Linked DNA regions of Homo sapiens: region 2 is linked to region 1. The links are contacts of gene promoters, found by promoter capture Hi-C in blood cells and fetal thymus (Javierre and others, 2016). All regions are on one chromosome and are shown on one strand. The core of a region is centred on a gene start or on the middle of the fragment in contact, and the rest is flanking DNA. Distances in the headings are between cores, read along the strand shown.

Evidence for each region. Contacts are between HindIII fragments. The CHiCAGO score rates a contact against its expected background, and 5 or more counts as called.
Region 2: a contact is called between a fragment that was not itself captured here and the fragment with the promoter of MRPL17 in region 1, in 3 of 17 cell types (non-activated CD4 T cells, total CD4 T cells and total CD8 T cells). The highest score is 5.5, in non-activated CD4 T cells.

What each region holds. Positions count from the first base shown.
Region 1 is chr11:6,682,090-6,684,789 of GRCh38, reverse strand. MRPL17 (mitochondrial ribosomal protein L17) reads left to right here and starts at 1,450. Exons shown (of 3, transcript NM_022061.4): 1 at 1,450-1,667; 2 at 1,975-2,043; 3 at 2,388-2,700. The coding sequence starts at 1,494. The coding sequence ends at 2,672. RefSeq lists enhancers at 1,290-1,729, 1,146-1,908. The HindIII fragment of the contact is 17,410 bases long and covers 1-2,700 here.
Region 2 is chr11:6,571,624-6,574,323 of GRCh38, reverse strand. DNHD1 (dynein heavy chain domain 1) reads right to left here. Exons shown (of 43, transcript NM_144666.3): 43 at 2,304-2,688. The coding sequence ends at 2,338. Among named protein-coding and RNA genes, the nearest start is that of RRP8, 31 kb to the left of the region's middle. The HindIII fragment of the contact is 538 bases long and covers 1,073-1,610 here.

The DNA.
Region 1 (2,700 bases), core at 201-2,700:
CAGCAGGGTCATGCTCTCTGACAGATCTGAAAAAGAATGCGTTTTATACCTTTCCCTTGGCTTCAGGTGTGCTCCAGCAATCCTTGGTGTTCATTCATTGATTTGCAACTGCTTGACTCCATAATCTCTGCTTTCAAGGTCACATGGCTTTCTGCCTGTATGTCTCTGTCTTTACCTGGTCAGCATCACCCTGTGTCCATCTCTCTCTCTTCATGCGCATTTTTTTTTTTTTTTTTTTTGAGATAGAGCCTCACTCTGTCGCCCAGTCTAGAGTGCAGTGCCCGATCTCAGCTCACTGCAACCTCCACCTCCCGGGTTCAAGCTATTCTCCTGCCTCAGCCTCCCGAGTAGCTAGAATTACAGGCATGAGCCACCACGCCCGGCTAATTTTTGTGTTTTTAGTAGAGACGGGGTTTCGCCATGTTGGCCAGGCTGGTCTCGAATTCCTGACCTCAGGTGATCCGCCCGCCTCGGCCTCCCAAAGTGCTGGAATTACAGGAGTGAGCCACCGTGCCCGGCCTGCATATATGTATGTACGTATATATGTGTCTATCTATCTAGCTAGCTAGACACTAGGCATTTTGGATTAGGCGCCCACCTATGCCTGCATGACTTCATCTTAACAAATGACATCTGCAATGACCCTATTTCCACATAAGGTCACATTCTGAGTTACTGCAGGTTAGGACTTAACATAGCTTTTTGGGGACGGGAAGAATCATGGGGAAGACACAATTCAACCCATAACAAGGAATAATTTTGACAGTCATTGCCAATTTGCAGATGTTAAGGCTCAAAAACAAACTATAATATTATTGTTCATTAACACATAAATGTGTAGGTATGTTTTTTCCCCTTAAAAAGACACACTGGTGTAATTAAAAACAATCTACTACTTTTCCCTTTAGTGCTGTAATTTTTTTAACTGGAGTGATTACTTCAATAAAAGAAAAATTTCACTATCTGCGTTTCTTTTCCGGGCATCGTTATTATCCATCTCACCATTACTACTGAAAATCACTGTGTTAAAAACAATGCGTACAGGTGTCAACCAGGCCAGCTGGCCACTGCTGGACCCGGTAGGGCCGTCAGCCCGCAGGACCCCGAACCCTCCGGGTGCCTTTCTCTTCAGACGCTCTCTTTCCCAGGAGTCTCCGCGGCGGAGCGCCCCATCGCCCTAAATGCCACTGGCTGACGCAGCCCCAAAAAAAACCCGATGGCCCGCTTATCCCACACTAGGGGGCGCCTGGTTCTTCGGCCGCCACAGAGCGCTCTGGATGCCTGAAGCCCGCCCAGCTCGCCGCCTCTGGAAAAGCTCAACACCGTTTCTCCGCCCTTCCCGAGATTGCCAACGAGGCAGGCTCTGATGCGCATGCGCAAACACGTTCACCACGCTCCGAGCTAAGGCGCATGCGTTCCCTGAAATTGCCGCCACCGGCTCTACCTTCCAGTTTCCAGTTCCGGCCTCCAAGGGGCGGGCAGAAGTTGGAAACATGCGGCTGTCGGTCGCTGCAGCGATCTCCCATGGCCGCGTATTTCGCCGTATGGGCCTCGGTCCCGAGTCCCGCATCCATCTGTTGCGGAACTTGCTCACAGGGCTGGTGCGGCACGAACGCATCGAGGCACCATGGGCGCGTGTGGACGAAATGAGGGGCTACGCGGAGAAGGTGAGGAGCGCGGCCCTCTTGTCCACTCTGCGGGTCTGGTCTGAGGGGGCGGAGCCGGCTGCAAGTGGAAAGGGACCGGGACCAACCTGGTAAACCATTCCCCAAGTCTGAGTCCCCCAGAACCTTGGGCTGAACCCGCCCCTCCATCGCCTCTAATGGAAGACTGGTTAGGGCTGCGGAGTTAGGGGTGGCGTAGATTGGAGATGCTTGGCTAGTGGAAAGAATGGATTGCCTTCCGGCATTAGAGAAATTAGATTGGCACCTTGTTTTCTTGCTCGGTTGGATCCGTGATGTTATGTCCTCACAGCTCATCGACTATGGGAAGCTGGGAGACACTAACGAACGAGCCATGCGCATGGCTGACTTCTGGCTCACAGTGAGTGCGACCTATCTGCCTTCAAAATCCCACCCTTTGCTCCCTGGGGGTGGGGGTTGGAAAAAGGAGAACTATGCAGAATTAAACTTGGGTACTCACTTATGGGCCAGTGCTGCTAACTAAATTAGAAACTGTGTCTTAAGTTAGTTGAAGTCGATGTGAATATACCTCTGCACAACTGCCTATAAACGACCCCTTTGTGTAACACTGACTATGCCAGATTGGCGAGGGGAGGGGGAGGTCTTTCTATGTGTGGATGGACCTTACCTTTGGGAATGGTGTAAAGTTAAATGCCTCTGCAGTTTTGCCTGACTCTGCTGTCTCTTGGATAATTCTCCCTCTAGGAGAAGGATTTGATCCCAAAGCTGTTTCAAGTACTGGCCCCTCGGTACAAAGATCAAACTGGGGGCTACACAAGAATGCTGCAGATCCCAAATCGGAGTTTGGATCGGGCCAAGATGGCAGTGATCGAGTATAAAGGGAATTGCCTCCCACCCCTGCCTCTGCCTCGCAGAGACAGCCACCTTACACTCCTAAACCAGCTGCTGCAGGGTTTGCGGCAGGACCTCAGGCAAAGCCAGGAAGCAAGCAACCACAGCTCCCACACAGCTCAAACACCAGGGATTTAACTGGATCTGAAGAGTCTGCAGCCCTTAA
Region 2 (2,700 bases), core at 92-2,591, 110 kb after region 1:
CATTGTTGAAATGACAACAAATGATTTAGAATATTACATAAACTTAGTTAATAAAGGAACAGCAGGGTTTGAGAGGATTAACTCCAATTTTGAAATAAGTTCTGTAGGTAAAATGCTGTAAAACACCATCACATGCCACAGACAAATTCTTCATGAAAATATGAGTCCATTGATATGGACTCGTATTCACTGTTGTTTTATTTTAAGAAATTGCCACAACCTTCAGCAGTCACCACCCTGATCAGCAGCTATCAATATTAAGGCAAAAAAGATTACTAGCAAAAAGATTACTATTTGCTGAAGGCTCAGATGATTATTAGCATTTTTAGCAATAAAGTATTTTTAAACTAAGGTATGCAATTTTTTTTTTTTTTTTTTTTTTAGACAGGGTCTTGCTCTGTCACCCAGGCTGGAGTACAGTGGCACAATCTCGGCTCGCTGCAACCTCCACCTCCTGGGTTCAAGAGATTCTTCTGCTGCCTCAGTCTCCTGAGTAGCTTGGATTACAGGTGCCCGTCACCACACCTCGCTAATTTTTGTATTTTTAGTAGAGACAGGGTTTCACCATGTTGGCCAGGCTGGTATACCTTGTTTTTTTTTTTAACTTAACATAATGCTATTTCATGCTTAATAGACTACAATATAGTGTAAATGTAACCCATATGCAGTGGGAAACCAAAAAGTTCATGTGACTTGCAATATTCGCCTTATTGTGGTGGTCTGGAACCAAACCCACAATAGCTTCAAGTATGCCTGTATACACTTCTGTTTGCATTTCCTCCCACCACGTAGCTGGTACCTAGCCATAGAGCAAGGGAGCTGAGTTTATTAATACTACGTAAGTTTTGATGCTTGGGGGCAAGGAGTGAAGCTCATATAGGCCTTTGGTTCTGCCATACTCTAACTCAACTTTTGTCGGACAGGCTCGCCCTGGCCTAGCAGGCAGTCATGCAACTAATAATAACAGAAAATATCAAAGCAGCAGAACTCTTGATTCCTTAGCTCCAGCTGCTTGCTCCCTCAAATTTCCCATCTCAGTTAATGACACATGATACACCTAGTTTCTCAAGCTTAAAATCCAAATCACCCTAGATTCTTCCTCTTCCTTTATTCTCCACATCCATTCCATCAGTCCTGCTGGTTTTACCTCCAGAATAGTTCTTAAATCTGTCAGTTCTTCATCTCTATTTAAACCCTTGCCCAAACTCCATTATCCCTTACTTGAATTACTTCAGTTGGGTCCAAATAGATCTTCTACCTTGTCACCCTGGCTTTTCTAGCATCCATCCACCATAGAACAGGCAGAGTGACCTTTGAAAAAATGCAAATTAGATCATATACTCTCCCACCTACTATTTGACAATACATTCTCATTATACTTTTGAAAAATACAAGATCATTACCACGGCCACGTGAGCCACCCCTTTCTATACGTTCCCATCATTTTGGGTCGCTCTGCCCCTCACTCGCCATGCTCTGGCTGCATACGCTGTTTCTTGAACACTTCAAGGTTGTTCCTGCCTCAAGACTTTTGTACCTACTGAGGGCTCTACCTGAATGAATATTCCTTCTAGATCTTTAAATAGCTACTTTCAAATATGCAGAAAGCTTCCTTGACCACTCAGATTATACTAACTGCTCCCGTCTCATCACATACCCTCTTGACGCATCGGTCTATTTTGTTTTCTTTATAGGACTTCAAAATCATCAAAATTATTTATATGTTGGCCTTTTATTGCCTGTTGCCCTACACTAGAATAACCTTATTAGCACATAGAAGAATACCTGGTTCCAAGGAATGCTCAATGAATAATTGTTGAATGAACATAGGACCTTGTATCTTACTTGGCTTTTTTCATATGCATGACTCACTGAGAGAATCCATCGTAGGAGAGGAATGAGTGGTAGGGCAGGATTGAGGCACTGCCAAGAACACCACTAAATGCCTTAAGAAAGAATTTTGAGTGCTAATGTTCTCCTTTCAAACATATCCCTTGTGGATTTAGCACAAGTGCTGAGACCACAGTAGAGAGCGGGGCAAGGATTTAGGATTCTGTGTGTCAGCCACTGCTGGGTCTGCCTAGCTTCTTGGATACATGATTAACACCAAGTCCCACCCCACCCCAACTGTACCCACACTTTCCCCTTCCCGGCTGCCAGGCACATGCCCTCTTCTACCTTCGGTGTGAATATACCTCCTCTTTTCTCAGTTATGCACACTGTACCTTTCTCCTAGTGTGTCACATTCTGCCTTCTTGGTGTGCACACACCCTACTCTACCCCCATATCTCAGAAATCTTTCATGGAATCACTACAACTTTATTTTGGTAGACGGGCTCAAGACAGGGGTGGGCTGCACACATGGACCCTCCTTTGGACACAGGTGTTGGGGGTGAGCTTGGTGGGTAAAGGCAGATGCATCACGATGTTCCTGCTCTGCAGCTTAGCGGTGCCAAGGGGCCCTCCCATGTACACAGGACACGAGTACACAGTCAGGTCGGCTGGGGCTGGCAGGTCACTGGTGCCCGGGGCCTGTGTGCTGATGCTGACGGGAGGCAGAGGGCTGGGTTGGCTGGAAGGACTGTCCTGCAAGGCTCCAGCTATTGGGTCCCACTCCGCATGTAGGACCTGTAGCCCGATCAGCAGCAGCCCTCTCTCTGGAACCGTGGGATTTGGACCATTCTCCACCTGGGGGCGTCA